Regions from separate parts of the Homo sapiens genome. Here regions 2, 3 and 4 are each linked to region 1. Evidence: promoter capture Hi-C in human tissues and cell types (Jung and others, 2019). All regions are on one chromosome and are shown on one strand. Each heading gives the region's core, a stretch centred on a gene start or on the middle of the fragment in contact. The rest is flanking DNA. Distances are from core to core; before and after follow the strand shown. Region 1 holds the start of ZMAT4 (zinc finger matrin-type 4). Region 2 has its middle 72 kb from the start of LINC02866. Region 3 has its middle 59 kb from the start of SIRLNT. Region 4 has its middle 39 kb from the start of SIRLNT.

Region 1 (3,475 bases), core at 528-3,027:
ATGGTATTTTGACACCCCCCCCAAAAAAAAAGTGGGCAGGCATTTTTTTAACCATTGTGAATAGAGTTTCAATAATCACAGTTCCCACCCAAAATAGCTGCCTACAGGAGGTGGAGGAGAATCTGTTGTGGTGGTTAAAGAAAATAAGAATTAAAAAGTGGAAGGGATTTGTGGAGCTGGAGAATCAAGACTGTCATCTGCATCTCCGTGGAAGGGTGCCCTGAGGAAGAGGTGTCACTGGAGAATCCCTCCCAGAACATGCAGTCTTGTCAGGACTGGGAATCGAACTCCCCAGCTGCGGGTTTAACGGAAATCAGAGGGATGAAAATCATCTAAACTCTTCAATGCCCCTAGGACTTGGAAGATCACCCCCAGACTATCAGCTTCAGAGTATCCCGCAGGTAGGCAGCGCAACTGGTGAAGTGCGGTGGGCACACAAGCAGAAGCTGCCTTCGCAGAAGAGGAAGAAAGTTCGAGACCAAGCACATCGCCTGCTTCCCCATGGGTCCCTGCTTCCTAGTGACTCACCTACCTAATATCTCCCTTTAGCAGAAGCCAAAGGCGGAGGAGGCAGGGGGAGAAAGGAGTTTCCCAAGGGTCTCAGAGCAAGAGAGGCCCCTGAGGTCTCGCGATTTAGAATGCTCAAGGGTGCTTCTGGGCTGAACCAGCTGCCTGCCGGGGTGAGCTGTTTTACTTCAAGAGCAGTTAGCAGAAGCAGTGTGGATGGTGACTTCAGCACCACCTCTGCCACAAATGCACCTGTGCACCAAAACAACCTGCGCACCTACACGGAGCCACCCCCTCCACCAGCCTCCACCTCCCAGAGCTGCGGGGATGCTCCGGGCCAGGCACCCCTTCTGGGGACAAGGGTGTAAGCTTCACATGGTACCAAACCGAACTCTCTATCCCGTTTTTTGGCTTTTTCTTTTTTTTTTTTTTTCAGGATACCCCAAGCCTGGAAAGTCTTCCAGAGTTTTCGGGAGCTAATTAATTATGTGATTTCCTCTCCTCTGAGAACTGTTTTGCTGGCGTGTCACCAAGTTGTCACGTAGGTGCCCACCAGGTCAAACAGAATAGACCATCCTCACCCACCCACCCCGGGGAATGTCTCCTTCCACCAAATAAAATGAACTGAGACAGGCAGGAAGGAGGCAGAAGTTTGAGGAAGGACTCCAGTTGAAGGTCACAATAGTTTGGGGAAGGCAGATCAAGGTAATACGAAGGGGACAGACCCTATAGCGGAAAACACAAACAACCAATCACGTTTCTCTCGGAACCAGCCTATCCATGATGGGTGCACCAGGAAACAGCACACCCTGGGATCCAACTTCTTTCACCCAGCACACCCGAATCTCCACCCCAGCCCTGCAGACACCCTAGCCTGAGACCAGACCTATTTAGACAGACCTGAGCGCAGCTAATTAGGAGTAGTAAACAAGCCCATTTCTTGCCAGCGCAGAAGTTTCCCAAATTGTCCGCTTGTTTTCCTCCCAACAAAAGACAGTGATTTCCCACCTTTATCACATTCCCTCCCAGAAACTTTTCTTTCTGCAATCCCTCCACCTAGGCTAAACTGCAAAGCCACTGGCAATGGAGACGCAGGCGCTGCACCCCCGGGACGCAGGCAGAGGTACCTTTTCCGCGAGGCAGAGGGGCCGCCGGTGCCCAGAGGCCAGCTGCCCTGCCGAGCAGTAGAGCGAAGCTGTGGGCTGGAGCACGCTGAGGATTACACGTTCCTGTCTCTGCGACCAGACCTTTCGGCAGCTCGGACCAACTGTGCTAGCGATGCACTTAGCAATTATCTGCTGGCTCCGACGCCCCGCCCTCTGCTCTTGCGATTGGCTCTCCAGTCCCGGGCAGGACTGCATTGGTTTCAGCCGACCTCACTCATTGCTTTGGCTCCTACTATTATCTAAGCCATCAAAGGAAATAATTCCATGTTTCATTGACAACCTGTAAGGCTCTCCTCCAGCCCAATGTGGGGGCAGGACCGGGAGGCCAGTGGAGAGAGGGGAGAGGAGTAGGAAAATGTGGGGGAGCGGGGTGGGGGAAGGAGGTGGAGGGGAGAGGAAAAGAAGGAGAAACTGTGGGGGGGTAGGAGGGTAGGAGGGAGAGAGAGAGAGAGATGGAGCTATCAAGCAATCAGATTCTTGCTCTAGCATTTTAACTTCCACAAAACAGAGCCCATAGCAACAATTTTCTGGCTTTATTTTCCCCCTAACTGGTAAATGTTGCTGAGGGCAGAGAGAATAATAACTATGGGGTGTCTGCCGGCATGAGACAGACTCTAGAAAGCCGAGCAAGGTTGAGGGCTGAAGGGATGGAGTAATGCTTTTCACAGGGCCACCCTGGAGGACATGTGAAGGACATGGCAGATTGCTTGGGGAGCATAGTAGGTGCATACCTGGAGTTTATCTATCAGTACTTTATCTCACAGTCCCCCTCATCCCCCAACCTGAGGAGACAATTTTCCTTTGCACCCTGTCCAAAGAGTCTCAGAAGAGCTATTCTTAAAATCCATAAAACTCTGGAGTTTCTCACTGTTCTCACTGGGAGGTCCAGAAAGCCGAGCATTCTAGAGTGAATGATTCTGCTGGGACCCTCACTTTGGTTTATTCTGACATGGCTTAAATTAATCGCTTAGACTTTCATCAACAACCTACGCACGTGAAGAGAGAACATACCCATCAAAGGGTGGGGACAGCTTAAACACTTTTCCTTGTTCACCAAGAAATCATAAAGTCTCACCCTAGTTAAAATGGCTTTTATCCAAAAGACAGGCAATAACAAATGCTGGCAAGGATGTGAAGAAAAGAGAATGAACCCTCCTACATTGCTGGTGAGAATGTGAATTAATGCAGCCACTATGGAGAACAGTATTGGGGTTTGTCAGAAAACTAAATATAGAGCTACCATCTGATCCAGCAATCCCACTGCTAGGTATATACCCCCAAAAAAGAAATCAGTATCTTGAAGAGATTCCTGCACTGCCATGTTTATTGCAGCTCTGTTCACAATAGACAAGATCTGGAAGCAATGTAAGTGTCCATCAACAGATAAATTAGATGAAGAAAATGTGGTACATATGCGTAGTGGAGTACTATTCAGCCATAAAAAGGAATGAGATCCTGTCATTTACAACACCATGGATGGAACTGGAGGACATTCTGTTAAATGAAATAAAACAGGCATGGAAAGACAAACTTCACATGTTTTCATTCATTTGTGAGAGCTAAAAATTAAAACAATTGAACTCATGGACAGAGAGAATAGAATGATGGTTACCAGAGGCTAGGAAGGGGCGGGGGTGGAATGGTTACTAGGTACAAAAATAGAGTTAGATAGAATGAATAGGATCTGGTATTTGACAGCACAACAGGGTTATTACAGTCAGCAAAACATATTGTACATTTTAAAATAACTGAAAGAGTACAATTGGATTGTTTGTAACAAAAGGAAATGCTAAATGCTTGAG
Region 2 (3,475 bases), core at 453-2,952, 870 kb before region 1:
CAGTACCATGCTGTTTTGGTTACTGTAGCTCTGTAGTATAACATTTATAGTATAATTAGAAGCCAGGTAATGTGATTCCTCCAGTTTTGTTCTTTTTGTGCAACACTGCTTTGGCCATTTGAGGTCTTTTGTGGTTCCATATACATTTTGTGATTGTTTTTGTATTTCTGTGAAGAATGTCATTGGTATTTTGATAGGGATTGCATTGAATCTATAGGTTATGTTGGGTAATATGGACACCTTAACAATATTGATTATTCTAATCCACGACCGTGAAATATTTTTCCATTTTTTGGTGTCCTCATAATTTCTTTCCTCAGTGTCTTATAACTTTTATTATAGCAATCTTTTACTTCTTTGCTTAGGTTGATTCCTAAGTATTTATTTTTAGGTATGGCTATTGTAAATGGGGTTACTTTTTAAAATTTCTTTTTCACATTGTTCGCTGTTGGCATATAGAAAACAATTGCTAATTCCTTCTTGCTCAGAGGAGGTCAGTCTTTGGTCTATCAGGCCTTCAACTGATTAGAAGAGGCCCACCCACATTATGGAGAGCCATTTGCTTTACTCAAAGTCCATCAGTTTAAACGTTAATCTCCTTTAAGAAAAATGTCCCCACAGAAACATCCTGAACGTTTGACCAAATAGCTGGGCACCGTGACTCAGCCAATTGACCTAAAATTAATCATCACTGGGGTCCGTAAGAAGAACCTGAATTAGGATAAGCTATGGCATCTGACACACTCTCCCTACAGCCTCTCCCAAAGAAAAAGAGTCCTCCTTTCATAATGATGGAGAGGAGGTCAAAAATGGTGAAGAGTGTAGCTGTCCCCTAAGAGACGCCCAGAAGGAAGGCAGCAATGGATTGGATAGAAGCTTCTGAGAGAGAAGTGGGGAACTCCACGCAGACGAACCTTACTTAGTTTACAACTAAAGGCTTTCTAAGCTGGGTAATGCCTGTGGAGCAAAACCATTGCCTCTCATAATAAAAACTAAAACTCAGGCTGAGCGCGGTGGCTCATGCCTGTAATCCCAGCACTTTGGGAGGCTGAGTCGGGTGGATCACGAGGTCCAGAGTTGAAGACCAGCCTGGACAATATGGTAAAACCTCGTTTCTACTAAAAATACAAAAATTAGCCGGGCATGGTGGCAGGCGCCTGTAATCCCAGCTACTCAGGAGGCTGAGGCAGAATTGCTTGAACCCGGGAGGCGGAGGTTGCAGTGAGCTGAGATCATGCCACTGCACTCCAGCCTGGGTGACTGAGCAAGACTCCGTCTCAAAGAAAAAATAAAAAAAGTAAAACTCAATGCTCTGAAGTACGGAATGTAGGGTGACTCTTTACCTAGGAAGAGGTGACCACGCCTTATATTCCTAAAGCTAGTACACAAGACACCTTCACCTTGGCTGCTGCCACCACTCACCACTGCTGAGGACAAGGGGACACTGATTCCCTTTAATGTTATGCCTGAGTCCAGCTAGGATCCCTGTAGTAATTTTTTTTTTTTTTGAGACAGAGTCTTGCTCTGTTGCCCAGGCTGGATTGCAGTGGCACAATCTCAGCTCACTGCAACCTCTGTCTCCCGGGTTCAGGTGATTCTCCTGCCTCAGCCTCCTGAGTAGCTGGGATTACAGGCATGAGCCACCATACCTGGCTAATTTTTGTATTTTTAGTAGAGACGGGTTTCACCATGTTGGCCAGGCTGGTCTCAAACTCCTGAGCTCAAGTGATCTGCCCACCTCAGCCTCTCAAAGTGCTGGGAATACAGGGATGAGCCACCATGCCAGGCTGATTTCTGTAGTAATTCTAAGGAGAATTTAATAAAAACTCGGGGTGACTTTAAAGGCAAGCAAACAAAAAACACTACAGAAATAACAGCTTGATAACATGTAATGCTCACTCTGTGGTGCTCTCAGGCTCAATACTATCCTGATCTCTGGGCTGACTTTAGGTGATGGGACCTGTCAAACTGGAACCCAAATACCTCACAGCTTACAGAGCAGAAAGTCAAGACAGTGAGGCTCATAGACCGAGTTCTTCTTCCCTTGCTGTTACTTTGAAATTCATTCTTTGTTTTTGCATTTTGGTGTCTCCAAAACAGGGTTAAGTGAAACAAAATTAATCAAAAAGGAGAAATGAAGGAGGAAAATGACAGGAAGAGAGAGAGAGGAAGGAAGGAAAGAAAGGAGGAAGGAAGGAAGAAAGGAAGGGAGGGAGGGAGGAAGGGGGGAGGGAAGGAGAGAGGGAAGAGAGAGGGAAAGATGAAAGGAAGAGAAAGAAAAAAGGAAAAAGAAAAAAGAAACAAAGAAAAGAAAAGAAAGGAAGTAAATGTACAAAGAATAAAAAAGAGAAGGAAAGAAATTCTTAAAAACTGTGAGATCCTATTCAATTTAAGATCTGGAATACAAAACTTTTTGTACCTACAAGTCATTCATTGCTTCCACAGCAATGAATTTTACCCACCAAATTTTGTCTTCTGCACAGATGTCCTATTTGCTTTGCTAATGGAAGAAATACTCTTCTTTTTCTTTGTTCACTTAACAGTTAACTTAATAAAGGAGTTGGATATTATTGCTTTCTGAAATGCAATTGCTAGTTAATTTTTGCAGTTTAGCATCTGCTTCACAGTAACATTAAAAAACTGAGTTCTTGAGTGTAAGCATCATCAAAAATAAATGCTTTTGTTTTGCAAAGTAATTTCCTTTGTAAACTCACAAATCTTTTGGACCACATGCTTCTGTGACAGCTGTAGAGGTATCAGACCAGACTCTATTACGCATTTGCCTTTAATTGTCCATAAGCACCTTTCTTCCTTCCTAACAGCACCATTAAGAGATTTTACCTATATTCTGTGTCAGAAATCATTTGCAGTGGGCCATGGGACCCTGCCGTGGACATTCAAAGGTTATATCTCTCTTCACAAAGCAGAGTCCTGGGGCTAACGGGACTTGCCCTTAGAATGACCAGGCTTTTTGAGAACCAACTGAGCACACAGCCATGACATAATATAATCATATAATAAATAATTATGCACATGTTCATGTACTTTATTATTATATATATAATTTATATATATATTATATATATATTTGAGATCGAGTCTTGCTCTGTCTCCCAGACTGGAGTGCGGTCGTGCGATCTCAGCTTACTGCAAGCTCTGCCTCCCAAGTTCACGCCCTTCTCCTGCCTCAGCCTCACGAGTAGCTGGGACTACAGGTGGCCGCCACCACACCCGGCTAATTTTGTTTTTGTATTTTTTGAGATGGAGTCTCATTCTGTTGCCTAGGCTGGAGTGCAGTGGTGAGATTTTGGCTCACTGCAGCCTCCACCTCCTGGGTTCAAGCGATTCTCCCGCCTCCGCCTCCCAAGTATCTGGAATTACAGCCACATGCCACCAAGCCTAGGTAATTTTTGTAATTTAGTAGAGATGCGGGGGGGGGGTTTCACCATGTTGTCCGGGCTGGTCTCAAACTCCT
Region 3 (3,475 bases), core at 725-3,224, 610 kb before region 1:
ACAGTGGCTCATGCCTGTAATCCCAGACTTTGGGAGGCTGACGAGGGTGGATCACTTGAGGCCAGGAGTTTGAGACCAGCCTGGCCAATTCTGTCTCTATTAAAAATACAAAAATTAGTCAGGCGTTGTGGCGGGCACCTGTAGTCCCAGCTACTTAGGAGGCTGAAGCATGAGAATCGCTTGAACCCAGGAGGCAGAGGTTGCAGTGAGCTGAGTTGTGCCACTGCACTCCAGCCTGGGTGATAGAGTGAGACACACTGTCTCAAAAGAAAAAATTCTTGCCTCTCCGGAATGTAGCCCCTCAGTCCTGGGAAAACTGGGATGGTTAGTCACCTTATAGCTTCTCAAAGTGAATCTGAATGCTTAAAATGAGAACAAAATATTGTGACTTGAAATTATACTTTTAAAGTTGTAAGGCTGATGTCAGTTGGAATTAGTCAAATGAGTATAATTAAATCACGAAGTTCATTAACATGTTTTTTAAGCTGGGCACAGAGGTATTTTATAATGATTATACATTTCATTTTATTTTCCTGTGGAAATGTGTCCTTGCTTTGTAAAAAATAGCTTTTCAAGACTTGTTTTGGTTGACTCTTGATTCACAGGAGGTCGAGAAGGCAAAATTGAATTTTAAAATGCTGTTTCTCCTTGGCATTACACCCAACCAGATAAAAAGTAGAACACTGACTTAAGAAGCCAGCTGGGTGTCTGAATAATGCCACACAGCACATACTTGACAGAGTTACCTCCATTTTGTGTTAATCATTTCTAAGGAAAAAAAAAATAGGCTTAATTTCATTGGAGCAAACTGATAGAATAAAGTAACAGGTTTTTTTTTTTTTTTGACAGTGGTTATTCATAACCTCACTTTCCCTTCTATAAACCCCAATTTCAATACCTTCCTCTGTTTGTCAGCAAAGTGTTTTTCAATATTGCAACAGGATATTATGCAAATATAAATCACACTGGATTGGACTATTTCCTTAGCAGCAAAAGCAATGTTCTTGCTGGGATGATAAGTGTAAATGTCTCTAATTATCCTTTACTACACAGCAGTCTGAGGAAAAAATCAGGCTACAAATAGAAAAATGAGCTAGACTGTATATGTTGAAAAATAGATTGTTAATTTAATTCATAAAGAACAAAACAGTTAATTACTTTATAGGACAAACTTTCTTGGTCTTTTCTGATTTCAGATGTATATGTATGTGATATAATTATCTGTATCTTTCACATAGCTTACAGATTCCAACAAAATCATGATTCTTGCATAATTAAGAAACAATGCTGAGATAGAAAAGTCAGCCAGACACGGTGGCTCATGCCTATAATCCCAGTACTTTGGGAGGCCATGGCGGGTGGATCACCTGAAAGACTAGCCTGGCCAACATGGCGAAACCCTTTCTCTACTAAAAATACAAAAAATCAGCTGGGCGTGGTGGTGCATGCCTGTAGTCCCAGCTACTCAGGAGGCTGAGGCAGAAAAATTGCTTGAACCCGGGAAGCAGAGGTTGCAGTGAACCAAGATCATGCCACTGCACTCCAGCCTTGGAGACAAAGTGAGACTCAGTCTCAAAAAAAAAAAAAATAATAAATAAATAAAAAATAAGAAAAAGTCGTAAGTCAATACCATAGATGAGGCGCTGAGATGAACACCAATGCAGAATGACTGTAAATGTCATCTGTTTATTCTGCTTCTTTCTATTTTTAAATAAAAAGATGGAAGGTAAGATGTAATGCTTAGTTTCAAAATTTTAAAGAGATAATTGAAATGTACCTATTAGGTCCTTATATCTTCATGGATCTGTCAGTTTAAGGAAATGTTTTGGCAGTCAAGGCAAAATAAGGGATGCAGAAAACTATATGATGTGCTCATGTGTATTGTCCACTTCCACTGCAGTACGTATTTTGTTCTTTTTTCTAAGTACGAATAAGGAGATTTTGCTGACTTTTCAGAAGTAGCCAAAAACGTTTCCTTGTTCCTAAAATCATTAACAACAATAGCTAACATAGATCAAGTGCTTACTATATGCCAAGCTAACCATGTGTAGGAGGGACTTACTATTATTATACCAATTTTAGAAATTTAAACAACAAACAAAGAAACCCTCAGACTTCACTTAACTTGATTGTTCAGGGATTCACAGCTGGTAAATGGAAAAACCAGCTTTGAAGCTCCTGGTGCCTGAACAAAGCCCATGTGCTCTACCAAGTCCTCTCTACTAGGAAGGACTTCATATGCATCTATAGGAAGCTCTGTGTCCACATTTTATGCTGACACAGATCCTGAGACTGGTATAAGATTGGGATATTCTTTTCGTTTGTGAGCAGATTTATAATGTGTGTATTTTTCAAAAAAAGTCTTAACATTATCCCCAACTATCTCATATTAAATTATGGTGTCTCACACATGAGATAAATTTGTAACAGATTTCTCACTTATGCATAATTAACCAGCCTTTCACAAAATATTTATAGGTAGTTTAGTATAGAAAGAAAGACTTTAGGATCATTACCATCAGTAACTTAGATGGCTGTAGACAACCATTTGTCATTGACACCTAATACATCCTATCCTATAGATCATGAAATGTCCTACTTATTTTCTATCTAATCTCACTTGGTAACTGCACTGGTTCTTCCCACAACTTACTCTCTTACATGCACTGTTGCTTCTTATAGATTTATTTATAGGCACATAACATCCTTTCAGTCATTTCAGTTAAGTAGTCTCTATAAAAAATAAGTTGTGCTGAATTGCTTCAATAAACCTTAGCTACCTTGTGGTAGAGAGACCTTTTGGCTTCATAAGTTGGTCAAATTAATGACTTTAAAAAATCATATGAGTATGTGCTACATTCTAAGATTCTCTATAGTCTAAATTCTTTCTAGGATGATCGGAAGAAATCCAAGGTAGAATTGTACATCTGCAGGTAAGATTTGAGGTTTAGTCTGTAAATTATTTAATTTGTACCTCAGTGTTTTTGTTTTTTAACTCTTACTCTAAACAGTGTCTGTTTATTTGTTTTGGTTTTTTTCCCTTTTTAAAAAAATTTCTGGTTAAACCTGGAGTAAAATAAACATCCAAACAAACATCAGAGGTAGTGTGGGAGAGAAAAAAGTATAATAAATGCATTTAGTCTAATAGAAAGAAGAAAGTCAGACACAAAATAAGAAACGACTGAGCAAGGTTACATTGTATAGTTCCCTTTCTCCAATATGTAGCCACTAGCCAGATGTGGCTACTGAGCATTTGAATTATGGGTAATTTATTTATTTATTTTTAAATTTTATTTTTTGAGTTGAAGTCTTTCTCTGTCGCCCATGCTGGAGTGCAGTGGTGTGAACTTACTTCACTGAAACACCTGCCTCCCGGGTTCAAGTGATTCTCCTGCCTCAGCCTCCTGAGTAGCTGGGACTACAGGCGTGCGCCACTTTGCCTGGCTTATTTTTTGTATGTTTAGTAGAGACTGGG
Region 4 (3,475 bases), core at 300-2,799, 590 kb before region 1:
TAACCATATGTCAGATGAATTTTGACAGAACCTAGATGACCAAGAGTTCAATATTACCCCTAAGGAATGCCTGGGTGTGTTTAGTATGTAGCATGGAAGCAGGGGCAGGGGCAGCTCTGGGCTCTCTGGTTAGAGCTGTGGTCTCTGACCTGAATAGGTCACTAAGTCCTTTGAGGCTTAACAGAACTAGGGAAATTCTCTCTAGAAAATGTGCAATTACACAATCACAGATTTTTTTGTTTCATGCAATTTTAGGAAATTGTAGAGCCAAGACTGAAGGTCTTAGGTACAGAATTAGCTGCAGTGGGGCCTACAAACAGACTGAAATTCTTCTCAAGGCACTGCTCAAAAATAATAGGTAAGACCAGAGATAACTCTTGGGACAGCAGAAAGGGTGACCCTTAGGCCCAATGCTTTGGGTGTCAAGATGCAATGACTAGAGATATTCTCGAACTGTGGGTCTCAAATGTTTGGGTTTTAGGACTTCTTTACACTCTTTAAAATTACTGAGAACCCCAAAAAGGTTTTGTTGATATGGGTTATATCCATCAATATTTACCATATTAGAAATTAAAGCTGAAAAAAAATTTAAATGTTTACTTATTTAACATAATAGTAAATTCATGTTAACATAAATAAATAACATGTCTTAATGAAAAAATAACTTTTTCAAAAATGTTGAGAAAGTGGCATTGTCTTACATGTGTACAAATCTTTTTAATGTCTATGTTAATAGAAGACAGTTGGATGCTTATATGTGCTTCTGCATTCAATCTGTTGTGTTATGTTGTTTTGATTGAAGAAAATCCAGCCTCACAGTGACATGTAGTCAGAAAAAGGAGGGGTATATTAGCAATATTTTCAGATAATTTAGAATATTCCTCTTTGATACTACCCTCAAAATGTGACAAATGGTAGTTTCTTAAAAGTAAGTTACCAGTGGTTAATGACAGTGCAGTGTGAAAGAATTTAAATGCACTTTTTTCTTCACTCCATTATATTAAAATACATTGCTCATCTTGGACTTTCAATGCTTATTTTACCCAGAAATAGTTTTGACCTCTCAGACCTTCTGAAAAAGTCCCTGAGACTGGAGGCCTACAGAGATACAATCCCACAGCAAGCACTCTTTCCCTTCAGCATATGCACGCAGCAAGTTCTACTTCTGTGATGAATACGCAGAAAGGACAGAGCGATTGTCCTCACGGTCTTTAGCCCCACAGCTGTGGCTGCGCAAGTCCTAGAGGGAATGGGACAGGGTCAGAGACATGGTTTGGGGTGAAGAAGAGAGAGAGGGAAAAGAAAACGAGAAAGAAGTCATATTTAAGGATCAACCATACCAGAAGGGACTCTGCCTTGAATGTGTATGTTGGTGTGTTTTCCTGGGGATGAAGGTGCAGGTGTCATGACAAGTGGGACACAGTTTTGAGAGAGAAGCACTAACAGCAGAGTGTGCCTAATGCCAATCTGGGTGGGAAATGCTACACAGAGTTAAAAGAAATTCTTACAACTATTTTATCTGTCCCAACTCTCAGTTATTTGCAAGGCAATGGGATAATTATTAGAACAATAACACTACTATACTACCTAGTTAAAAGTTAAGCAAAGCTGTTCCAACCAGATTTAGATTTTTTCTGCCATGAAAATTCCTTTTGTTCTTAAACATTTGAAAAAAATACTTGGGTTGATAGTCTCTTTTGAAGACAGGGCAATCCCTAATTTCAACAAATTAATTCAGCACTGGCATTTTCTCTTTCCTAGATGTAGTTGCAATACTGGATTTTCAAATCTGGTCTTATAGAATCTGGAAGGTTTTCATCCCATTACACTTAGTAACAATAACAAATCTCTGAAGAGATAATAGGAAGCTTGAGCCCTTCTTGTCAGATTATTTTTTAAAAGATTCCTTTAGGAGAGTCTTACCCATCAGTCACAGAAGACAGGGTGGTGACTGAGCTAATCAGAAACCAGGTATTATGTGGATTGAGAACGCCTGATTCAATGTTCCTGCTCCAGACCCACTTCTGTGCTTCTGCATCATTTTATTCCAATAAATTAACCCCTCTCAACATCAACACAGATCAGGCCTGGCCAGGAAGTCCCTGGATTTTTAGAGCTGAGATCCCTAGTCTTGAAGTGGCCTTGTTACTTGTTTTTTTTTTTTAATTCTTTTAACATGAAAAAAAATTTTTATAGAGACAGGGGTCTTACTATGTTGCCCAGGCTGGTCTTGCACTCTTGGCATCAAGAGATCCTCCCACTGTGTTGGAATTACAGGTGTATGCCACTGCGCCTGGCCAGGTTACTTCTGTAAAAGAAAAGCTGTTTTCACAATGAGGCTGATGATAATTTTTGCCAAAGGCTCCTGAGGCAGAACTATTTATTAGTATGAAATTCAGGTTAAAGGAAAAACCTATTGTGAGATGGTAACTACAGCCACATCCATAGTGTAAAGAATCTCAGTGTGTGTCGCGTAGGTGGCGTTATGACTTTGCCTACAAATGCCGCACTCTAGCTCCAGGAGACAGGAGGACCCAGGCTGGGTACACTGCAGGCTCAGTTCTGATTGGTGGGAAAGTGGAACACAGTCGGTCTCTTGAGATTTAAGCACCTTACTCACTCAGCTCACCATCCCTTCACTTTTCAAGGAATGGGGTACTAGCTACTGGCACTTTATATACAAATGAACTACTTCAAATTCCTCTCCAGTACCTTCCATATCCCTGTTATGCAACTAATTTCCCCAAAGGAAACATAGCTTGAAGTGTCTGGGGCACCTGAAGAAACAAGACAGAAAAGCACATTCCATGTGAAAGCCAAGCTGGCTCCTGTTCAGCAGCACCCAGGCGCAGGGAAATCTTGTGTTTCTTCCAGATGGCTCCAGGCTCCAGGCTCCAGGGACACATTTTTGGTCTCTGCCTCTGTTGAGTTCTCCTGTATTTTTACTGTTAATGACTCAAGGAGGGGGCAGGGGGTGATGTGTTGGCAAAAAGCATGATGATAAATCCTGCTGAGGCACCTTTTCTGGAAAGAGCGGGCAGCTGTCTTCTGCTTCATATTCCAGGCATGCCTGGTACCTGTGCTTTTCTCGCTTTCCCAGTTCCCTGGTGGGAAGGAGTTGGCGGCATATGCAGGGTTCCAAAACACCTTAATGAGAAGAATGCTATTGCAGGGCAATCATTATTGTGAACATCTGTGAACTGTAGCTTTTAATTGAGCTACAGCTAATGTTTATTGTGTGTAGAAAGAGTAGGGGATTAATGGTGGTTTGATTGTCTTTAGATGGTTTCTTATTATCTTTTCCTTTCTCTTGTGATGTTTTGGCAGAAGTTACAGAGAGGATTCTAAGCCCCAAGACCAGGCATCCAAATTGTCCAGAAGTCTTTGGATTTATAAACAAAGCAGTGAGTGGAGTGGGGTTGTTCTTGCAGCCTTCCTTAGGAATATATAGTATACAATTTAGAAGCTGGTAGAA

The links. Contacts are between HindIII fragments. The study calls those that stand out against the background at their distance.
Region 2: a contact is called between a fragment that was not itself captured here and the fragment with the promoter of ZMAT4 in region 1, in 2 of the 25 tissues and cell types used here (dorsolateral prefrontal cortex and mesenchymal stem cells).
Region 3: a fragment that was not itself captured here is called in contact with the fragment with the promoter of ZMAT4 in region 1 in 5 of the 25 tissues and cell types used here (IMR-90 fibroblasts, bladder, dorsolateral prefrontal cortex and 2 more).
Region 4: a contact is called between a fragment that was not itself captured here and the fragment with the promoter of ZMAT4 in region 1, in 3 of the 25 tissues and cell types used here (IMR-90 fibroblasts, bladder and mesenchymal stem cells).

Annotation. Positions count from the first base shown.
Region 1 is chr8:40,896,049-40,899,523 of GRCh38, forward strand. It overlaps ZMAT4 (zinc finger matrin-type 4), which reads right to left and starts at 1,778. Exons shown (of 7, transcript NM_024645.3): 1 at 1,635-1,778. The HindIII fragment of the contact is 9,161 bases long and covers 1-3,475 here.
Region 2 is chr8:40,029,879-40,033,353 of GRCh38, forward strand. No RefSeq gene overlaps it. Among named protein-coding and RNA genes, the nearest start is that of LINC02866, 72 kb to the right of the region's middle. The HindIII fragment of the contact is 6,298 bases long and covers 1-3,475 here.
Region 3 is chr8:40,282,591-40,286,065 of GRCh38, forward strand. No RefSeq gene overlaps it. Among named protein-coding and RNA genes, the nearest start is that of SIRLNT, 59 kb to the right of the region's middle. The HindIII fragment of the contact is 7,039 bases long and covers 1-3,475 here.
Region 4 is chr8:40,302,476-40,305,950 of GRCh38, forward strand. No RefSeq gene overlaps it. Among named protein-coding and RNA genes, the nearest start is that of SIRLNT, 39 kb to the right of the region's middle. The HindIII fragment of the contact is 6,520 bases long and covers 1-3,475 here.